2 separate regions of the Homo sapiens genome follow, and region 2 is linked to region 1. The links are contacts of gene promoters, found by promoter capture Hi-C in blood cells and fetal thymus (Javierre and others, 2016). All regions are on one chromosome and are shown on one strand. The core of a region is centred on a gene start or on the middle of the fragment in contact, and the rest is flanking DNA. Distances in the headings are between cores, read along the strand shown. Region 1 holds the start of GIT1 (GIT ArfGAP 1). Region 2 holds the start of NSRP1 (nuclear speckle splicing regulatory protein 1).

Region 1 (6,553 bases), core at 958-3,457:
AATCAGGGGAAAGGAGGCATCTGGGGCACAAATTCCTCTGACAGATGAGGACCTGGGAGGAGGAGCTGGGCAATCCAACACATCTGATGCCCACCATTCCTCCCTGAGCCCACTGGGCATCCAGAGGCTGTGGTCGGACATTCAACGCAACATACAAAGGACAACTGCCTTGCTGGTGCTGCCCTTCACCCCTCCACCCCAGAATCAGACCACAGATTCGGAGATGGCAGCCCCCCAAAAACCATTTCTACTCCAACTTCTTTGCCTCTGAATTGAGGAAGCTGAGGACCCCACAGTGAGGAAAGTCTTGTTGGGATTACAGAGTAAGCTGGGAACAAAGGCAACACTAAGCCCCAGACTCCCCCGATTGGGCGCCTGCTAAGACTCTCCTCCACATTCCATGCCATGCTTACCCCACGGAGTTGTGGAACAGTGGGGAGACATTTATAAGGCAAGGTGCATCCTCAGCCCTGCCATCCCCAGACCTGCCTGCAGCTCGGGGAACGGAGTCACAGTTTCTTAGGGGTATGGACCCTCAACCCCAGGGCCCTCTAAACCATGATAAGCCCCTAGGAGGCCTTGGTCATAACCACCTATGGAGTATTTTGTGCCCAAGCCCTGCTAAGTCATAGTTCCCAAATACTCTAGCTTGGCACCCCCAGAACCACCAGAGCATCTGTGAGGCTCAACCGGTGGGGTCCTGGGCCTGCTCAAGGGGTGGCTGAAAGTTATGGGCCCACAAACCAGCACCCCATACTCTCACTCTTAATCATGCCCACAGCCCCGCTAGAGTTCACGGACCTCCGCAGCCTGCCCAGGGGCCTACCAGGGAGATAGCTCCTTTGCTAAAGAAAGAATGGATGTGGGCTAGAGCTTCCTTCCCAGGCCAGCTGCAGAGCCCCGTCACTGGCTGTCCTCCCTCATCAGAAGGGAGCAGCCTCTTGGATCATTACCCCTGACTTCCTCAGCAGGCCTGGGGGGTTTCACTCCAGCCCAGTCCTAACTCTGTTAGGAAAAGGAAGGGAACCACCATGTAAATACAGCCAGGAGACAGGCCAGGAAGCCAGCAGGATACGGGGAATCTCGGCACGGCCTCCCACCCATTTCTGGCCAGACTGGGCTAGGGGACAGGGAGGGGCCCGCACCCAGGATAGCTTGATGCCAAGCTCACTTTCCCAAGCAGGCCTTACCGGTGAACAGGAACAGCAGGGTCCAGCCGAGCTGTTCCCAGTCACCACCAGCAGGCCTGGGGATGCCTCCCGAGAAGACACCCGGGTCTAGACTGGCCCTGAACGCCAGGCCCGGCAAGGAGCGCTAGCCTTAGGAACCCGAGGCAGGGAGTCCTGGGAGTAGCCACCGCTCATCTGCTCCTGAGGAGACGGTATTCAGGCCCCACTGGCGCATCTGCCCGGCCCTCTGCTCCTTGCCCTCCACCACCCCGGCAGGCGTACCGACCACGCGAGCAGCAGGTGCAAGACGCGGGGGTGGCACTGAGATGACATAAAACCACACTCGCCCCCACCTCCCAAGCCCTGACGGCCTCCGCCACGGCCCTCCTGCCACCCCAGGCTGGCGCTTCCGTCGGATACAGAGATGGAGGTGGAGGAGCAGCCAGCTGCCCGCCTCCCTCAGACCGAGGAGCGGGAGGCGGCGCCGGGAACGTCCTTCCTCGCTAGTCCACGGCCTCCAGGGAGCATGGGCACCCCAGGCCGGCCCTCCCGCCAAGGGCGCAGCTCCGCAGTGGCCGAGGCGGGGGCCCAGCCTGGAGGCCGCAGCCCCCCGCCCCGCCCAGCCCTCCGGCCCCGCACAGCGCTCTTGCCAGGCCCCGGCGCCCGCCCGGCGGCGGCCTGGCTGTGCGGTCCCGCCCCCGGCCCCGCCGCGCTTACCCGGGGCGCTGCAGTCCGCACACACCTCCGCTCGCGGCCCCTTTCGGGACATCCTCAGCGGCGACGCGGCCGCAGCCCTCTGGGCCAGCGTGGGGGGCGCGGGCGGCGGGCCCGGGCGGCGGCGGCGGCCCCTGCTGCCCGGCCCGGCTCCGGCGAGGCCCCGGCGAGGCTCCGCGCGCCCGGCCAACCGTCCGCCCCGGGGCTGGCCCGGAACCCGCCGTGCCCGCCTGCCCGCTCGCCCTCGGGCGCCCTCCGCCCCGCGCCGCCCCGCCGCCGCTCGCGGCTCCTCTCTCCGCCCCCTGCGCGGCTCCCGGCCGCTTCTGCAGGAAGCGGCGCAGGCCCTGCCCACAGGGGGAGGGGCCGCACCCCCGCCCCGCCGCGCGCTGCCGGCCGCGCCCCCTAGAGAAAGGAAGCCCGGGCGCGGGCAGGAGGGGGCGGGGGCGCTTAAAGGGGCCGCGGCAGATGCCCGGCCCCGGCGGGCAGCGTGGCCTGCGGCCCTGGCCTCCGCTGCAGCGCTCGCCTGGCCCGGAGGCAATGTGAGTCACCCTCACAGCCCCCTCCCCTTCACTTTCCGCGTGGGGTGGACCGGGGGACGCTGGGCCCACGGACGGCGAGGGTGGGGATTAGGGAAGAAGGACTTGGAGGCCCAAGTCCCGCTCCAGGTCAAAGGGGCTGTGCCTTGGGGTACCCGTCTATCTCTGGTTGGGGTGAGGTGTGCGTCCCTGTCCCGTAGGTGTCCACATCTGTGTGTCCAGGGGTGTGTGTGTATGTGTCACACTCTTGCTGAATACGCCCACTGCTAACAATATGGACGCCCAGGTGCCAGAAAGGTCAGGCAGTGTATTCCCCTGCCTCCGGACTAAAAATATATCTATCTCTCCATGCATCCTTCCATCCAGAGAGGAGAGAATCTGGGCGGTTTTTAAAGACCTCCCGAGGAGTGACCACTGTGCCTGTGTGCACTCACATCCACTTGTCATCCGCCTTACACACACCCACGGTGTTTCTGGGCCACCAGAGGTGTGTGTGTCCAGAAAGGGTGCATATAACATAGAGGGGCCGTTTCAGGTGACGGCCTTTCTTCCTGGACTTCACACGACGAGGCAGGCAAAGGCAAGGCAGGTGAGGGACGTGGGTGGGCTGGGGGGCAGGGAGCCTAGGTAGAGGCCGCACATGAGCGCAGCCCCCGCACTGAGCATGCGCCCCCATACGCGTGTGCCGCGCGTGTACCCAACCCCCAATCCCTGCAGCAGCAAAAGGCCCGGGCACTCTGCTTGTGGGGAGAGGGTAGAGGTCCCCAGGGCCAGACCTGGGGGCCAGGTCAGTGGTGACAATTGAGGAGGGGTTCTCCAAGAGTCAGAGACTCCTGCTTGTTAAGATGGGGGCAGTCCTTTGGCAGGGGTGCTCAAGTTGGTCGATTATCCCAACGGTGCCAGAGCGGCAGTGATTTGTGGGTGGGCAGGCTCCTTCCCTAGGGGAGACAAGTAATGCTCATGAGTCACACCACCCGAAATACATGCAAAGCTGCCTCCATCGCCTTTTGCTGCGGCCCAGATTGACAAGTTTGTTTGAAATCGCGATCCATGGGCTTTATTTATAATTGCACCTTAAAAAAATCTTGCAGGCCTCCCCTCCCTCGACAGCCAGCCGCTCAGCTGGTGGGGCTTTTGCAAGCAACGATACCTAGCTGGTGTGTAGGGGGGAGCACCACCTGCCGCCCCGAGCTGCTCTCTCACCAGAGTCCATGGGCTTGGTGGCCTCAGCGGGAAGGGGGTAAGGGGCGGGGGGAGTGAGACGGGAGGAGTGGCCAGGCAGCCCGTGCCAGGCGCTCAGTCCACGAGCGGTGGCCGCCCGTTCACCCCCGATCGACCCCCAGCTATGGAATTTCATTTATTAAATGTCGAGGAGGCTGCTGGCAGCCCTGCCGCTTGGCTGTCTTTGTTTCTCCGCTGTGTGGGCGCGTCTCGAGCACGTGGCAGCTGAGAGCGCGGGCCGAAGCGCAAGCGACCTGGGTTCAGTGTCTACCGCCGCCTGGCAAAAAAAGAACACGGCCGCCCAGGGGACAGTTCCCCACAATCGACAACTCCCCACAATCCATCCTGAACTCCCCCTGTCCTCGGACTCCTGGGCTTTGCTGGGGAAGAAGGATGATTCACTCTGCTTACCCCTCCACCCCACTCCCCATCTCCTGGTTGGCTCAGAGACTACCTGGGAGTGGCCCTGGCGCGGACACATCGTCCAAACTTTGTTTCCCCCAGCCCCGTCACAGCCAAACTTCTGGGCCTGGGACTGGAGATAAAAGGGTTTCTGGATTCCCCCGTGGAGATGTCACCACCCCAGGAAGCAGGACTGCTACAGTGGAATCACACACAAGGTTCGAAAAACAATTTAATAAGGAAATGCACAGGCATGCTCCCGGCCACTCCTAGATGCCCCTCAACCGCGCCAGCCCCCTCCCCTGCACTGGCTGCAGCCACGACACTCTGCTGACCCCTGGTGGTGCAGGCGGGCAGCGGTCCCGGGCCCCCGGAGACGCCAGCTGGCTCCTCCCAGGCGGGAGAAAGGGGCGAGGCAGCCCGCTCCTCCCTCATCTCTTCCCGCTGGGGCCTGGCACCACAGGGTGTGGAGGAGGAAGGAGGGAAGACCACACAAAGAAACCTGAGAGAGTTTGCAAGCTTTTGCTGGCACCTCCCACACAAACACTTCTTGGATTGTTGTTTTAAGTAGGGCCGGTGTGGAATCCCTTATTCCTGCCTTGTTCTGAGGTGGGCTCAAGAAGGCACCGTGCCTGGTCCCGCCACCTGTCTCGGCCCGCCTGGTTGGGGGAGGGAGGCGCTGTTTCCAGGGCAGTCATTATCCTTAGCTCACCCCAGGAGGTAGTATCTAGATTCTCATTTTGAAGGGGAGTGGACCGAGAAAGTCGGAAAAATTAAGCAGTTTGCTCTTTTAAGGTCAGGCAGTTGGAGCTATTCGAACTCTGGTCTCTCTGACATCACAGTCCCCTCCCTCCAGGGACTGGTCCAAGCCTCTTGGTCCTTCCAGGCCTTGCAATTGGCGCTTGAGAGGCCAATTCAACTTTTACCACACCCTCTGCAGGGACCATTCTGGAAGTACCTCTTCACCCTGGGGTCATTCAGGAAGGAGACAGTCTCTGGAATCAGTCACTTCCCTTCCTGAAGGGCCAGCTGGGTGGAGGAACGGAGCTGCCACCTGCTGCTTTTTCTGTCCAACCTCACTCTGGTTCTTGCTGGGGACAGTGTGCGGGGGGAAAGGGACCATCTTTCCCGCGTTACTGGACATTCTGTTTCCAATGACATGTGTGGAAGATGGAGTTTAATTTTCTAACAGGGCAGGGAAGACTCCTCAGAAATGTTCCAGGGGCCAGACCCCTGGCTGCTCCAATGACCCTTGGTACTGATGCCCCACACCTTTCTCAGGAGTTCCCAATCAGACGCTCTCTTCTGGGAATCCGGATCCTTCTTCATGGCCCCTGGGACCCAAGCTCAATTCTGAAGACCACACCTCCACCCCGTCTCCCAAACGCTCGACCTAGGCCCGTGCCCCCCCACTTCCCCAGCAAAAGGCAAAATGCCAGCGGGGGAGGTGCGTCCCAGCCCACCTGGCGTCAGGGCCCCGCCCGCGTCTGGGCCAGGCCTGACTCCCCGCCCACTCTCCCACGAGATCCGGGGACAGTGCAGACCCTCTTCGGCCACCTGCCACCCCCAGTTTCACGAGGCGGACTACAAACCCCATGATGCCGCGGGGCTGAGCTGACAAGCTCTACCCGGGGCGCCTGGTCCCCTTCCTCTCTCCCCATCATCCCCACATCCCCGTATCCCGCGCCGGCCGCTCGGGCTGAGGGCCGGGCTATGCAGCTGTGGGGACCCGGGGGCTGCGGGCGCGCGTCCCTGCGGCGGCGTCCCCGGGGCCCGCGTCCCGTGCGCCCCCGCGCCCGCTGCGGGCGCCTGCTCCCTCCGCCGAGCGGCGTCTTTGTGTGCGGGGGTGTGGGAGGCGAGCGCGAGTCCGCGCAGCGCCGCCGAGTGCCCGCTCCCTCCCAGGGCGGGTGGGGGCCTCTCCGCGCCGCCCGCCGCCGCCGCCTCGCGAGGACGCCCGTCGCCCGCGCCGCCCGCACCGCGCCGGGCGCGCCGCCCCCGCCCGCCGCCGCTCGCACATGCCCGAGCCGCAGCCCCGCGAGCAGGCAGCGCCGGCCCCCCGCCCCGCGGCCCCGGGCCCCGGCTCCGGCGCCGTCCCTCCTCCCCGGCCGGGCGCCGCGGCCCCGGCATGAGGAGCGGGCGATGATCCCCGCCAACGCCTCCGCCAGGAAGGGGCCCGAGGGCAAGTATCCGCTGCACTACCTCGTGTGGCACAACCGCCACCGCGAGCTGGAGAAGGAGGTCCGCGCGGGCCAGGTAGGAGCGCCTTCGGGGCGCCGCGGGGACCCCGCGGCCGGGCACGCCCGTCCGGCCTGGGGAGGGGGTGCGGCGCGGGCTGTCCCGCCTCCCTGGCGAGTTTGCGGCGCGTCTTTGTTTGCGGCCGCGGCTTTTGTGCTTGTTGACCGGGAAAGGGTGATCCCCTCCGGCCGGGACGGGCGGGACCACACGTGTTTCGGACTCACCTAGATGAGAGTAGAGGCCTCTGTGCCCCTCCTCCGCCGGGGCAGTGAGGGC
Region 2 (6,553 bases), core at 1,877-4,376, 530 kb after region 1:
CTTCCTCAGCATATATACACACACGCTTCCCATCCATTCTTCCCAATATTATTACATGGTAATGTAATCAGAATAGATCAATATTCAGTGTTTATATTATCATGATTATGTATGCTATTTACAGCTTAGCCATGTTGTAAATTACAATTATTTTCCATTCCTGTACATCCTTTTGCTTTCCCTAGAGTTAATGTCAAAAGAAAACTGGAGTGCTATAATATCACACAAGTAGATTTCAGAGCAAAGAATATTATAATGATAAAGGTTATTTGATAATGAAAAGTCAATTAAGAAGACATTACAATCTTAAACCTAATAACAGAGCTTCAAAATACATGAAGCTAAAACTGATAGAACTTCAAGTCTATAGACATAAAATATTTACCTAGGACTGGGGGATTTGGAGGAAAATAGGAGTGACTAATAGGTATATGGTTTCTTTGTTGGGTATTAAAAATAATCTAAAATTGGCCAGGTGCAGTGGCTCACACCTGTGATCCCAGCACTTTGGGAGGCTGAGGCGGGTGGATCACCTGAGGTCAGGCGTTTGAGACCACCCTGGCCAACATGGAGAAACCCTGTCTCTACTAAAAATACAAAAATTAGCTGGGTGTTGTGGCGGGCGCCTGTAATCCCAGCTATTTAGGAGGCTGAGGCAGGAGAATCGCTTGAACCCAGGAGGCTTGAACCCAGGAGCTTGCAGTGAGCTGAGATGCACCATAGCTCTCCAGCCTGGGAAACAGAGCAAGGCTCTGTCTCAAAAAACAAAAACAAAACTAAAATTGATTGTGGTGAGGGTAGTACAACTATGACTATACTAAACATACAACTTGACTATACTAAACCCCACTGAATTGCACACTTTAAATGAATGAATTGTATGATATGTGAATTATCGCTCAATAAAACTTTTTAAAAATATTTTTAAAAATATTATACTAGATAGAAATCTGAATCTATACAAAGACATGGAAACACCAGAAATGATAAATATGTGGGTAAACGTATTTTTCCTATTCAAAAAAATCTTTTTAAAAACCAAGTTACTTTTTATAGCAAAAATAATTTATTGTGCATTTATGACATAGTGACAATAGCACAAAACTAGGAGATAAAATGGAAGTATACTTTTCTAAGCTTCTTATACTATACACAAAGTGGTAGATTCTTACTTTAAGGCAGATTGTGATAAGTTTAAGACATATATTAGAAACCCTAAAGCAACAGCTTATATAACAAGCAAAGAAGTATGGTCAATAAACCAACAAAGGAGGCTGAAGCATGAAAATCATAAGCTGAATCACAGTTGGGAAAAATAGAAAACAAATAGCAATCATACTTTTTTTTTTTTTTTTTGAGATGGGGTCTGGCTATGTTGTGCATGCTGGCCTCAACCTCCCAAAGTGTTGGGACTACAGGCCTGAGCCACCCCACCCAGCCTGCAATCATAGTCACTTTAATGAAAATGTTTTAAGCATCCAAATTAAATGGAAGAGACTGTCAGACTGGATAAAAAAGCAAGACCCAACTATTTTCTGTCAACAAGTGATCCAATTTGAATGTAAATACACAAATAGATTAAAATGGGTTGAAAAAGATACACTATGCTAGCATTAATCAAAAGAAAGCTAGTTATATTGATAGCAGACCAAGCAGACAAAGAAGAATAAAGGAATAAAGAGGGCCACTTCTTAATGCTATAGAGGTTAGTAGAGGTTAATGCAAGAGAACGTAACAATCCTAAATGTTTACATACCTAATTTCAAAATACACGACACAAACTGATAGAATTGAAAGGAGAAGCAAATTCGCAATTATAGTTGGAGATTTCAACATCCTTATCTCAGTAATTGATCTCTTTGGCTGCTCTGAGACTAGCTGGGAATGAACCAAGAGTGAATGAGTGCACAGATGTGGGCAGAGTTTTCAAAAAGGTATCATATATGGGCCAGGCACGGTGGCTCACGCCTGTAATCCCAGCACTTTGGGAGGCTGAGGCGGGTGGGTCACATGAGGTCAGGAGTTTGAGACCAGCCTGGCCAACATGGTGAAACCCCGCCTCTACTAAAAAAATACAAAAATTAGCCAGGCATGGTGGCGGACGCCTGTAATCTCAGCTACTCAGGAGGCTGAGGCAGGAGAATCGCCTGAACCTGGGAGGCGGAGGTTGCAGTGAGCCAAGATTATGCCACTGCACTCCAGCCTGGGCGACAAGAGCGAGACTACGTCTCAAAAAAAAAAAAAAAAAAAAAAAAGTATCATATATGATCCTGATTCCTATACCCAATGGCCCGTGAACAGTATTATTAATAATTTTGGTCCTTGGGCCGGGCGCGGTGGCTCATGCCTGTAATCCCAGCAATTTGGGAGGCCGAGTCGGGCGGATCACCCGAGGTCGGGAGTTCGAGACCAGCCTGACCAACATGGAGAAACCCCGTCTCTACTAAAAATACAAACTTAGCCGGGCGTGGTGGCACATGCCTGTAATCCCAGCTACTCGGGAGGCTGAGGCAGGAGAATCGCTTGAACCCGGGAGGCGGAGGTTGAGGTAACCGAGTTCGCGCCTTTGCACTCTAGCCTGGGCAACAAGAGCGAAACTCCGTCTCAAAAAAAAAATTTTTTTTTTAATAATAATTTTGGTCCTATGTAAGGTATTATTAATACACAGATTTTCATTTTTCGCCTAATTATCCTGAACCAGTTAAAGTGAACACTTGGAAGGGGGTAGGGGGAATATCGATAGCCATGGCAGTGGTTTTCAAACTTTATCAGAATTACCCGCTGGTTAAAATTCAGATAACTCGCTTCACTCCAAAGTTTCTGATTCTGCAGGTTTGGGGTAGGGCCCGAGAATTTGTCATTTTAACAGTATCTCCGGTGTTGCTGATGCCGCTGGTCCCAGAACCACACACTGCGAACAACTGGCCTAGAACGTTGTCATTCCTTTCTCCTACAGATTTTGAGGCAGCCGGTGGGCTCCGAAACAAAACAGAGGTCACTGGATCCGATTCCCAGTACCATAGAAGTGACTCAAACCAGCGATTCAACCGACAAGCAGGATCCGGGCCACCCAAAGCCGCGCGAGAGTTTACGTGACGACATCGGCGTCAGCGTCACGGAGGCGTCGGCCACGTTCAGCGGACACGGGAGCAAGATGGCGATTCCGGGCAGGCAGTGAGTGATCCGGGAGTTAGGGTCAGGCTGGGGGATGAGAAACTACGGCGACTGTATCTTTGGCCGAGGAGTTTTAAATGCGCTGGAAGTGAAGGGACTGTGTCGTCAAGGGTAGAGACGGGAAAAAACGAGAAGTCCTGAGGAACATAGATTCCCCTCCCCCGTACATTTTCCCGGATGGAAGCCCGAAGTTTGAGGGAGAAACTTGTGAGGAAATAAAGGAAGTTAGGCTGAGGGGCAGAGAGCGAGACTTTTCTATTTTCCAAAAGCTCGGTCTGAGGCCCCTCAGTCTTGCTTCCTAACCCGCGCTTGAGTTTCTCCCCGCTTGGATGCTCTCAGGGGCAGTGTGAAGAGAGACAGTTCCTGGCTTCCTTAGAGGGCCTTGTTCTCCTTGGCAGAAGCTCAAGTCCTGATTCCCGCCCTTCCTTCTCGTTTTAGGAATATTGTTCTGAGAAGCCACAGAAAAAGGGTAGGCATATAGGAAATTGGGGTATACGTTGCCGCAAAAGAGACAAATACTGTACGTACTTGAAAGTTTTACCTTTGATGTGTAATCCTTACTTTTGATGCGGCCTCCCGTGATCTCCGCATCTTAAAGGCCAAAACGTGAGAAACTAAAGGAGTTGGATCTGATGGGATGGTTCTCTCAGATGCTCCGAGGCAAAGCACATGATCTTAATAAAGTGTAATGCGAACTTGCCCCATGGCTACTTGGGTTTCTCAGTTATCTTTTAAAAATTTTCGTGAGTTACACTATCCAGTCAGTTCTTAGAAACTGTGTAAGTACACAGTAGGAAAAAAAATCTAGCCATTTTCTTGACTGTTTAGACCACAAGGATAGTTGAAAGCATTTTAAAATCTTTAGTGGACATGAACTAAACTTTCCACTACACATGTTTTTTTTTTTTTTTTTTAAATGTTACTGTCACTTCGCCATCTTAAAACATTTCTGAACTTTTCATTTACTTCTCTTCTTTGATAAAAATGGTATTCGAGTTTGGCCCGTGTCCACAAATGATCACTTAGAGTAGTAATTATAGAATCTTACGGCATGTTAGAATTTTGAGATCACTGAGAAGCAAAAACAGTCTGTTACGTGTTCATAAAGCTTATGACATGTTTTGATTTGGTAGCTTCATGTGGAAGAGGTAGTAGATGTATTTGTTAACATTTAAACATAAAGGTTTAATTTCTATTTCAAAAAAAATATATGCAGGTATGGGCTTATTTTGCCAAAGAAAACACAGCAGTTGCACCCTGTTTTGCAAAAACCATCAGTGTTTGGGAATGATTCTGATGATGATGATGAGGTAAGGAAACCTATGTTTTACTCGTGCATGGTTGGAAATGTAAATTTTTTAAAAATTGAACTTGTGACTCTGATACCTTTGCCTTTGTTATTTGTCAGTACAGTGGAGTATAATTTACAGAATTGTCAAAAAGGAAGGTGTAAAGAAAGCAGCTCCACCGATTTTTTAAAGATTTTTTTCCCTCTAAAAGCTGCAAACTTTACCTTTAAACAAATACACGGTCTTTTCAGACTACTGAAATTGTCATAACAAAATTGTTGGTGTAAAGATCCCTAGGTATGAGTTATTAAGATGTCACCAATTTTCTACAAATTTTTATTAGCAAAGCAGTTTTTAATTTGTTAACCATGAGCTAAGATCACTATATAACAGTTCTTAACAACGCTACTTTTTTTTTAAATTCAGTGTCTGCCAAATGTAATTGCTCAGTTATAATCGTGGTAGTGAATAGTTACTCTTGATAGTACTACAGTAACATCTAATATCAACATTTTCTATTTTAGCAGCCAAAACTACTTCTGTGAAACCCACAGTTATATATCAGAAACAATCCCAAATGTGTGCTTTTCTTTTCTCTTTTTTTTTTTTTTTTTGAAACAGTGTCTTGCTCAGTTGCCCAGGCTGGAGTGCAATGCCGCGATCTCGGCTCACTGCAACCTCCGCCTCCTGGGTTCAAGCGATTCTCTTGCCTAATCTTCCTGAGTAGCTGGGATTACAGGCACCTGCCATCATGACCAGCTAATTTTTGTATTTTTGTAGAGACAGGGTCTCACCATGTTGGCCGGGCTAGTCTTGAACTCCTGACCTCAGGTGATCTGCCTGCCTCAGCTTCCCAAAGTGCTGGGATTACAGGCGTAAGCCACCGCACCCAGTAAATATGTGCTTTTCCAATACTCCCATCATGTTTTAATATTTTTTTTTCTTTTTTTTTTTGAGACAGAGTTTCGCTCTTGTTACCTAGGCTAGAGTGGGATGGTGCAGTCTTGGCTCACTGCAACCCCTGCCTCCCAGGTTCAAGTGATTCTCCTGCTTCAATCTCCTGAGTAGCTGGGGTTACAGGTGCCTGCCACCATGCCTGGCTAATTTTTATTTTTTTATTTTTTTGTATTTTTAGTATTTTTAATATTTTTTGTATTTAGTAGATTTTCCTGCCTCAGCCTCCTGAGTAGCTGGGATTACAGGTGCCCCACCACCACGCCCAGCTAATTTTTATATTTTTAGGAGAGACGGGGTTTCACCATGTTGGCCAGGCTGGTCTTGAACCTAACCTCAGGTGATCCACTTGCCTTGGCCTCCCAAAGTGTTGGGATTACAGGCATGAGTCACCATGCCCAGCCTCTTTTTTTTGAGATGGAGTCTCCCTCTTTCGCCCAGGCTGGAGTGCAGTGGTGCGATCTCAGCTCATTGCAACCTCCGCCTCCTGGGTTCAAGCGTTTCTCCTGCCTCAGCCTGCTGAGTAGCAGGGATTACAGGAACACACCACCACGCCTGGCTAATTCTTGTGTTTTTAGTAGAGGTGGGATTTCACCATGTTGATCAGGCTGGTCTCGAACTCCTGACCTCAGATGATCCACCCACCTTGGCCTCCCAAAGTGCTGGAATTACAGGCATGACCCACTGTGCCTGACCGGTTTTCAGTTTTTATTATATAATAGCATGGGTGGATAATTTAACATATTTGATATTTCTTTGCTACTTTTGAAGACATTGGCTCTTTATGGCTCACAGTTTTTAAAAATTGAGGTATAATTTACATATAAAATGCTCAGATTTTAAGTGTACAGCTTGATGATTTTTGACAAATGTATATGCCCCAATCAAGATTTAGAACATTTCCCTCTCTCCCAAAAGGCTTTCCATACCCTCCTGCAGTCAGTCTACCTCCCCACTTGCTACCCCAGACAAATGCTCATATTTCTATCACTAGATTAGTTTTGCCTGTTACAGAATTTCATATAAAAAAAATCATACAGTATGTACTCTTTTATGTCTGACTTACTCCACTCAGTATAATGCCAGATTTATCCATGTAGTTGTAGAATCACATTTTTCTTAAAATGGATTTTTTC

Evidence for each region. The method cuts DNA at HindIII sites, captures the fragments that hold promoters and counts their contacts. A CHiCAGO score of 5 or more calls a contact.
Region 2: the fragment with the promoter of NSRP1 here is called in contact with the fragment with the promoter of GIT1 in region 1 in 1 of 17 cell types (fetal thymus); the score reaches 8.8 in fetal thymus.

Annotation. Positions count from the first base shown.
Region 1 is chr17:29,587,441-29,593,993 of GRCh38, forward strand. GIT1 (GIT ArfGAP 1) reads right to left here and starts at 2,208. Exons shown (of 20, transcript NM_014030.4): 1 at 1,887-2,208. The coding sequence starts at 1,938. It overlaps ANKRD13B (ankyrin repeat domain 13B), which reads left to right and starts at 5,692. Exons shown (of 15, transcript NM_152345.5): 1 at 5,692-6,295. The coding sequence starts at 6,182. RefSeq lists enhancers at 490-1,389, 2,289-3,188 and silencers at 1,607-1,796, 2,057-2,536, 4,297-4,486. The HindIII fragment of the contact is 9,256 bases long and covers 1-4,559 here.
Region 2 is chr17:30,113,690-30,120,242 of GRCh38, forward strand. NSRP1 (nuclear speckle splicing regulatory protein 1) reads left to right here and starts at 3,127. Exons shown (of 7, transcript NM_032141.4): 1 at 3,127-3,174; 2 at 4,391-4,484. The coding sequence starts at 3,155. It overlaps MIR423 (microRNA 423), which reads left to right and starts at 3,390; the gene lies at 3,390-3,483. It overlaps MIR3184 (microRNA 3184), which reads right to left and starts at 3,471; the gene lies at 3,397-3,471. RefSeq lists enhancers at 2,638-3,837, 2,870-2,989, 3,010-3,109, 3,140-3,239 and silencers at 2,952-3,553, 3,490-3,559. The HindIII fragment of the contact is 3,145 bases long and covers 1,136-4,280 here.